Regions from separate parts of the Homo sapiens genome. Here region 2 is linked to region 1. The links are contacts of gene promoters, found by promoter capture Hi-C in human tissues and cell types (Jung and others, 2019). All regions are on one chromosome and are shown on one strand. Each heading gives the region's core, a stretch centred on a gene start or on the middle of the fragment in contact. The rest is flanking DNA. Distances are from core to core; before and after follow the strand shown. Region 1 holds the start of TMEM132D (transmembrane protein 132D). Region 2 overlaps TMEM132D (transmembrane protein 132D).

Region 1 (4,310 bases), core at 1,329-3,828:
CCGGAGTAGCTCAGGCCTGAGCCTTTCTCCTGGATGCAGTCAGAAGGACTGGAAGAGAATGGCTTCAGTTTTACAGGAGGCCCCATCTTTAGAGGGCCTGAAAGTGTCCTCTCATCCACCAGTGGCATAGCCCCTGCAGTACTTGAATTCCAGCTCCTTTCTGCCTTTATCAACGCTCAAAGTTGCCATTTCTCAAAAACTGCTACAGGGAATGTTTTTGTTTTATTGAAAAATAACAACAAAAACTGCTTAGTGTAAAAGCCTCATCCACACAGCATGAACAATTAGTGCAATTTAATTACCGACAAAATTAGGCTTACAGCTTGATTTATGGCCCCGCAGATGAAACACATATTCTTGGAGGAAAGCAGATTTCTTACAAGTAACTTGAGAGAGACAAGGCAGGCGATTTTGATGGGAAGTTGTCCTGGGGCAGGGGCTGGAGTTAGGGACCTATGAGCCCTCAGTGTCCATCTCCAAGTCTAAGTTTTGCTTCCCCACAATTAGCTGTGTTAATTACCCAAAGAAGATTAGATGTACCAGGGAGAATGGCATACTGGAGAGAGAAAAAGTAAGAAGCCATTCTTGCATCTTATTTTAGCCACTGATTAGGTATCTGAAGTTGCATCTTCCCAAAAAATCTTCCATACCAAAGAGTGGAAAAAACTTTTGTTTCGCCAACTACGCATAATGAAGAAACCGTTTAACATTTTAGGCAGCAGCTGGAACTTGACAGTCACCTTTTGTCTTCACATTACAGATAGAGAAACCTTCTGCAATGGCAAAAAGAAAAGTTATTTGATGATTGCAATTCAGGGGAAAAACTCAATTTGATTTAGAGAAACATAAAATGATTGTTTTTAATAAAGAACAGGGACCACTTGTTTCTAGTCAATATGTCTGAGAAATGTCTTACAAATAGACTCAGTGTCACAAATAGATGATTTACAAATAGACTCAGACCCACTGTAGCGTTAAGGATGGAACCTGGATTATGCATTCAGTGCGGGCATCAATTTTGACACTCAGAGACCAGGTGAAGGTGTCCAAGAGACGAAAGCTCAGCTCTCTCATCACTCAGGTGAAGGAGAAAGGGGACCAGTGGTTCCAGCACGTGTTCCGCAGGCCGGCAGCATCAGCATCACCTGGAACTTTTTAGGAACGGAGATCGGAAGTCCCACCTTGACCTGCCGAGATAGCTCTGGGGTGGGCCCAGCAACCCAGGTCTAACAAATTTTCCAGTGACTCTCCTGCTGGTTCAAACTTCAGAAACAGTGAAAGAGACAATCTCTTAGGGTCTTTGCAGCGTCGACTCTTAGGAATTTTACAGGAGAGCAATACAAAGAGAAAAGGCAACAAGTTTAAGAAACAAACAAAAGAAAAAACAGAAAGACAGATATATTCAGATAAGTAGATACAGAATAAAAGACAAGAGCACATCTCAAAGGACATGAACCCAGAAAAACAATCTTCGGTAGAACAGCAGTGGCTTTTTTGATCTTCCTTGAAACTTTGAAAGCTAAAAACTCTTAAAGCATTGGTATATTTCTGCAACTACAGGCATACAGGATAAAAAAGTCCATTGCCCCCTCAGTCAGATGATAACGACCCATTTTTATCTACTGAGGTGAATTCACCTCATTAGATTCAGGGCTTGTTGGTTTACAATATTCCTTAAAAATTCTGAATGCTTTTCTTCCCTCTGAGCTTTGATGGGGTTAATTTAAAGGCTCTCGTGGAGCAAAGCAGTTCTTGGGCTACAAATTACAGGACGGTGCTTAGGGATCTTGGTGTGGGAATGTCTTAGTTGGAGATTCCGGGCGGTGTTGAGAATCATGTCTTTTATCTTCTCAAAGCAATGTTGTCTCCTAATGGATCCATTTCCTTTCCCAGTGAGCCCTGGGGAGCACACGACATGTTTCTAGGGACACTAACTTGGGGGATCGCTCTGGGAAGGGGCTTGGGGCCAGCATGACCTCAGTGTGGCGTGTCAGAGACTTCCTCACTGCGATCCCTGGGAGATGCGCAGGGCGGGGCGAGGGCCCTTCTCCAGCCATCCTTGCGCTCTCCCTGGCGAAGAGCCTCAGGTGCCCCCGGGCTGGAGGACCTCCCCTGGGCCTGAGGTTTTGATGACGACGAGAGGCCGGTGGCCAGCTGGACACCTGTTGGGAGAGTGGGTGGCTCCGTCCCCGGGGTGCGCCCGCGCTGGGAGCCCTCGCCCGCCGCCACCGCGCGTCCGCGCTCGCAGGGAGGGTGGCCGGGAGGCTGGGCGTGGGGCGGCCAGGGGGAGGTGGGATTTACTTTGCGGATTGGGGCTCACAGCTGTCACTCCGAAAGGGTGGGGCTTTTTAAAAGCAGACAAATTTTTAAGGCGAAAGCCCCAGCCGGCTCCGGGCACCGTGGCGATCGCCTCCGTTCCGTTCCGGATGCGGTCCTTGCGGAGCGGAGCCCCCGCGCCTGCTGGCAGGAGGCAGCTGCGTTGCTCGGCCGCGTCCCCGAGCCGGCGGGCCCTCCTCCGCGCACATCTGGCCCGCCTCCCCCGGGCGCAGGGGGGAGCCCCGCGTCTCCGGAGCCTGCAGTGCGCTCGGCGCGCGTAGAGCCCCGCGAGCCCCAGCCGGGCCCGGGGCCGGGCGGGCCGAGGCGGCGGCCGGGGAGCAGCCGCACCCGCCAAACTTTGGGTGCCGGAGCGCGCGCGCGCCCGAGCCCCGAGGCGCAGCGGCCGGCCTGGGATGGGGGCTGCGGGCCAGGGAGCCCCGGGCCGCCCAGCGAGCCCGGCCACCCGCCCGGGGGGCTCCGAGCCGCCTCTGCCCGCGTCCCGGGCTCCGCAGCCCCGCCACCCCGGCGCCGCCTGCGCCAGCGCCCGCTAGCCAGCCCGGGAGCAGCTGGAGCCGCCGGAGCCCTGCGCCTGGAGGCGCCCCTCCTTGGGCCACCGGGGGCCACTCTTCGCTCGGGTAAACAGGAAAGGAAATACCCCCTGTGGATTAAAATTTAAAAAAAATTCTGTTGGGGTCGAAGGAGGGAGGTGGGGTTTGCCTGCGCGCGTGTTGGACTCCGGAGAGCAACTCAGGAGCCCGCGCGGTCGTCGCCTCCCGGCCTGGCCATGGACTGGCGGGAAGAGGGAGCAGGGCGCCCGGGCTGCTCGGGCCCCTAGCCGGGCGCTCCCTCGCCACCGGCCCCGCTGCGGGCCTCTAGGGGACTGAGACGGTCTCTTGTTCGCCTGGACGGCGCCGGGGAGCGGAGGATCTGCGCTCCGGGTCTCCAGGATGTGCCCGTCTGAGATGGGGACGCTGTGGCACCACTGGTCGCCGGTACTCATCAGCCTGGCCGCCCTGTTTTCCAAAGGTGAGGACGCCGCGGCCGCCAGGGCCCGGGGACTAACTTCGCCTGGAGTGAGTGTGTGGGAGTGTGTGGAGGATGGGGGCGGCCGGGAGAGAGGGCTCGTGTGCAAGTGTGTGTGCGCGCTTGTGTGCATGTGTGTGTGCGCGCGTGTGAACGTGCGCTCGTGCGGCAGCCAAGCTCCTCGGACGCCCCTTGGCCGAAGGTGCTTGTCCTGGAGCACTTGGGTGGGAGGCCTTAGGTGAGACTACTAAGGAGCCGAAAGGAAAGGAAGGCTGTTTCCTGAAAGCCTTTTCTGTAAAGGGAGAGGGCGTGGGGACCCTTGAGAGGAAAGGTGGCCTCTGGAGGGCCGAGCCGGCTGTCGGGGGAGGAGGGGATTGAGATGACCAGGGAGATTTCTGGAATTTGGGATTGACTTTCCCTGGTGGCACTGACCTATTTGGAAATAATTTTGGAGCACTCCTGTTGTATGGGAATACTATTTTGTGTATTATAGGCTGCCAAAAATATAGCCTGGGGGGCGGCTCTGAAGAAGGGGGATGGGTTTCTCCAGGTCTGCCGCTGTGAGGTTTGGGCACAGGGTCTGGCGCTCACCCTTCCGTAGGGTGCTGGGAGCAGCAGCGGCCCCGCAGGGTGCACGTGGAGTTTCAGCTACAAGTTGTGACCCGAATTTTCCCAGCGGAGCCCTGACTTGAAGCCATGTGTCAAGGCAGGAATTCCTCAATGTTTCCTCTTCTCTTCTGCCAGCATCCCTGTCTGTCATGGGAAGAGCAAGTTTGGAAGCTCTGGACAGTCATTCTTCCTTGAAGAGAAATGGTGTGATTTGTGCGGGAGATTCTTTCTCATGATTGACCTGGGCTGCTTGTGTGTGGTTCCCCCACCCGTGCCCCTTTCCTGCAGATAGATACACTGGGAGGAGAGTGAAGCGTCTCAGCAGTCTCTAATACGTGCTGCAAGAACCCTGTACCCATATT
Region 2 (4,310 bases), core at 1,232-3,731, 370 kb after region 1:
TTTTTCTGGTCAACTGGAAATTAGAAGCCAAGAGTGATTGCACAATATGTTAATAGAGCTATGACCTATAAAAAAAATGAAGCTTATTTTATGCTCTGTCACTATTAATGAGAGAAAGTAAGTATGGAGACAAAGAGCAATTCAAAAAAGCTTTGCTGTGACCCCAAAGGGCATGTTTCCATCAATTAACTGGGAGGAATGCTATCACCAAATCTACATGCGTAGGAGTGTGGCACCCTTTGGTGGGTGCACACTGTGTATTGTTCCATAGATTGAGCCTATATGGACTCAAAAATGGAGATATCAGATTTTACCAGGATTTTATCTATGCAGAGACTATGTGGCCACATGAATCTCTGGGGGAGACACATGTAGACAAATCTTTCATTTCAGAAGTGAGAGAAGCAGTCCAGAAGTTTGGATCTCTTCGTATCTTCCTTCCTCCAATTCCCTGGAATTCTACAGTCAGTTATTGATTAAAGCCAGTATTAGCCTGCGGATAGCTGATTAGCCAATAATAGTTTCTAACAGGACTATGTTCATTATAAACAAATAGCCTGAGACTTACACACAATCCAAATTTCTCTTCTTGGGCTTTGAACTCTATATAGCAAAACTTCTCTCCCTGTCCCCCTTCCTTTCTCTTTGCTCTCTCTTCCTCTTTCATTTTTTTCTAACAACACACACACACACACACACACACACACACACACGCACACAAATCTTAAATGAATCTCCCAACAAACAAAACACTGAAATTCCCCTTTATCCCACTTTTATCTCATCAATTTTGCTTTCTGTCTCTATGTGTTCTTTATAGCACACATTTGTATTAGTTCAATAGCCCCAGTGTGAATTTCATACATGAATATGCCTGTATTCAGGTTGCATATTAAGAACACTTCCACTGACAAGATTGCGTAAGTAGGGAGTTTCTCTTTGGGGCAATGTTGTCATCAGCCTAAGTCTCTGTACACAGTGCTTTGGATAATGAACTCAAATTTATAGACTTTAGGAGGCTGACACATCCCATCATTTGGAGTCCCCTGGTGGTTGTGGTGGAGGGAGATGCAAATCCTCCATCCAAATCCATCTCTCTTTCCACTATAGTGACAGGGTCACAGTGGGGATACGGCTGTCCAGGTAAAGACTGACTTCCCAGCACTCGCTGCTCTTGCAGTCAGGTGTGGCCATGAGACTAGGCTCCTTCCAATGGGAGGTGAGTGAATTTGGGCATGCAGTGCCCACCTCACCTGCTTAAGAGGAAATCCCTTGTTCTGGTCTACTGCTCTTCCCTCTTCCTCTTGGCTGGGATGGTCATGAGCACAGAGACATTAGAAGTTATACATTAAAAACAGTAGAGATGCCTTCAGCCTTGATCCCCAAATGACTGAGTGGAACAGAGACACCCAGCAACCTGGGTTACCAGCAATGGATGTTCACAGGAGGAGGAAATACACTTCCTTGTTCTTGAAGTCACTGAATCTTAGCCTCCCCTTGTTATATAATTGGAAATGATCATAAATAACTCAGGCTACGTTAAACAAGAAGGGACTGGATGGGAGGATGGGGAATATTTGTATGCCTAAAGGGAAGGCTGAGAACCAGATTCAGAAATGTTAGCTGTGTTAATTCCTGCAAACCAGAGAGAAGGAAGCAATAGACAGTTGTAGCAGGGCCACAAGGCTGGGTGAATTTCCCCCAACCTTTTTTATTTGCTGTGTCTCTTTGTTCAAGATTATATTCCAGAGAGAATCTTTCAGCTGGACTGGCTTAGGTCATGTGTCCACCTTTTGTCCAGGGTTGGAGGGAGAAACTCTTGACTTACAAGTCTACCATGGTGGTATAGAATGGCAGAGAGGTGGGTCATATAAGCAAAATGAAGATACTGCTATCCAGGAAAGAGATTGGGTATGGGGAGCAAAAGCAACAATTGCGCACCACATTTCTGAACCCTGGATGCTGTACTTGAAACTCTGTGTGTGTGTGTTGATGATATATACATATTCTACATTATGTATACATATATGTATATACAAATTGCATTTATATATTTTTATATATATATGTATATAAAATATACACAGTCCCTGCAGTTCTATTATGTTTTAAAAACACAATATACCTTTAACCCCAGGCAGGTTTTGTTGATACCCAATCACAGTGCATGTGCATACTATGGGGAAAATTATGGCTTTCCCCCATCACCATGGTAGATATATTATTAAGCATAAATCTACAGCAAAGTATCTTCAAAATCAAGTGCTATGTTTATCTCTGTGTAATGAGGCTGTCAGTGTAACCTGTATTTATTGAACCACAAGTAGGTTATAAAACTTCCATTAATGAATGTAAGTAACTCAGTTGTCATAAACAAAGGGAGAAATTAGTATTTGGCTCAGACCCAGTGGAGCCCAGGGGCATGTGTTCTAGGAACTACTTTAATGGTTCCAAATGGTGCCACTGACAGCTCTGAGATTCGTGCTTCAAAATTATTAACCCAACACACACCGTGTTCAGTAAATACCGTGTCTACATCTCCGAAGAATGACCATCCAGTTTATTACATAGATTTTCCTTGATATTCACACACAAGGATACCTCTTGAGTATGCCTTCTTCAATTCTGAACATCTAAAACATGCCCTAGAAATGTGTGTTCTATTATGAAAATGTTCTGTGTCTCTGAAAGACAGTTCCCAGTGTCCTGTATAAAATTCCAGGAAAAAACATTTTTGCAGAAATAATGCTACCGACTATAGCTTCATTTGCTACAGTGGAATTATTAGCAAGAAATGTTGAATACTTCATGGGTTGAACAAGCCACTGTGTCCTTTCTTAAGAACTTGAAAAGGATTCATTGGAGAAACATCATCTGAATTCCACATAGCCTACTTATGAATAAAATTTCAGAAACATATAAGCCCATTATATATCAGAAAAGGCCTATGTACTGATATCTCCTGTATAATGAAAAGGTTGTCACAGCCAGGTTGATGACCTATTTATTTAAAGCAATGTTGATTCAATAAAATTCCACTGCAGAGTAATTGGGACAGCCTTTAGAATTCATCTTAGTATAATAGTAGCTGTCCACAGCGGATTGTACTTTTGTTCGCTACCACATCTTGGTTGCCTACAATTTAAATGAGTTTCTGCAAGGCAGGAATCCTAACTATTCGCCCAGTGTCTCACCTGAGTATCTAGAAAGGTCAGATGGCTTTTTGGCGTCTGCATGCGATTCCCAGTTTTTAAACGACTGCATTCAAAGTGTTTGCATGCATAATGATTATTTAAAACATCAAACGTGCATTTTCCCCACAGAAATAATGTTATACGTGATGATCATTTTCTAAAAATGCTGACTTTTGCAGTAGGGCCACACCTAGAAGCAATTCTTTCTCTCTTTGTGGACTCGCCAAATCAGTATGTGTCCTGGGGGTTCCTAAGACCACCCCCAGGTCCAGCGAGTCACTAGGAGAACTCACAGGACTCAGCATGTGGTGAGAATCACTGCTCCGATGTATTCGCCAAGGAAAGCAAAGCATGGTCCGCAGAGGGAAAAGGCACAGGGGAGGAGACCAGGCTCACGCTCCCAGGAATCCTCTCCCCGTGGAGTCACGCAGGATGTGCTTAATTCCTCCAATTCCTCCAGCATATGGCTGGGACAGCACTGCCAGAGGAGCTCACCTGAGCCCAGGAGTTCAGGGTTTTCACTGGGGATTGCTCATGGGGGCACCCTCTGCCTGGCACGTACCAAAATTCTATGCTCCTAGAAGACAACAAAGTGTCCAGCATAAACCACCTCATTTGCCCAGTCTAGGCACCGTGAGCCCCTCTGACCATGAAAAGGGAGGGAACGCTCCCCAAATCCAAGTTCCCAGCCACCCTTGCCAGCAGGCTTTCCTAAGGAGGGCAGTCTCAAGCCTGCAGCCTCAGGTCTTTTCTGCACACTACATTTTAAAATTGTTTCCATGGGAAATAGCGTTGTTGGTGTTAGGGACAGACGTGTCCTGCTTTTTCTCAAAGCCCTGGTCCTATGAGTGTCATCTCCCCCTCGCCTTTTGTCCCTAATATTAATAGCAGAAGATGGTCTCACTTTCTCCTCTGGCATGACAGAGAGGGATTTTGAGATGTAGGCTCTGGCACCATTGCCTTACTGCATGTTTATATAGGCACAATGATTACAAGTCTGGAGGAACTCCAAGTCGGCCGCTCCCACCATCCTCGTCTGCCTAGGTCAGGTACCATCAGCGTGCTCCAGGTTCCCCTTGGTACTCTCGCTTCAAGACTTTTCCTATTTTCCGCTGA

What was found. The method cuts DNA at HindIII sites, captures the fragments that hold promoters and counts their contacts. A contact is called where the count stands out against the background at its distance.
Region 2: a contact is called between a fragment that was not itself captured here and the fragment with the promoter of TMEM132D in region 1, in 1 of the 25 tissues and cell types used here (mesendoderm cells).

What each region holds. Positions count from the first base shown.
Region 1 is chr12:129,902,293-129,906,602 of GRCh38, reverse strand. It overlaps TMEM132D (transmembrane protein 132D), which reads left to right and starts at 2,578. Exons shown (of 9, transcript NM_133448.3): 1 at 2,578-3,342. The coding sequence starts at 3,264. The HindIII fragment of the contact is 10,076 bases long and covers 1-4,310 here.
Region 2 is chr12:129,532,181-129,536,490 of GRCh38, reverse strand. All of the region lies in intron 2 of TMEM132D (transmembrane protein 132D), which reads left to right. Among named protein-coding and RNA genes, the nearest start is that of TMEM132D-AS2, 330 kb to the right of the region's middle. The HindIII fragment of the contact is 4,730 bases long and covers 117-4,310 here.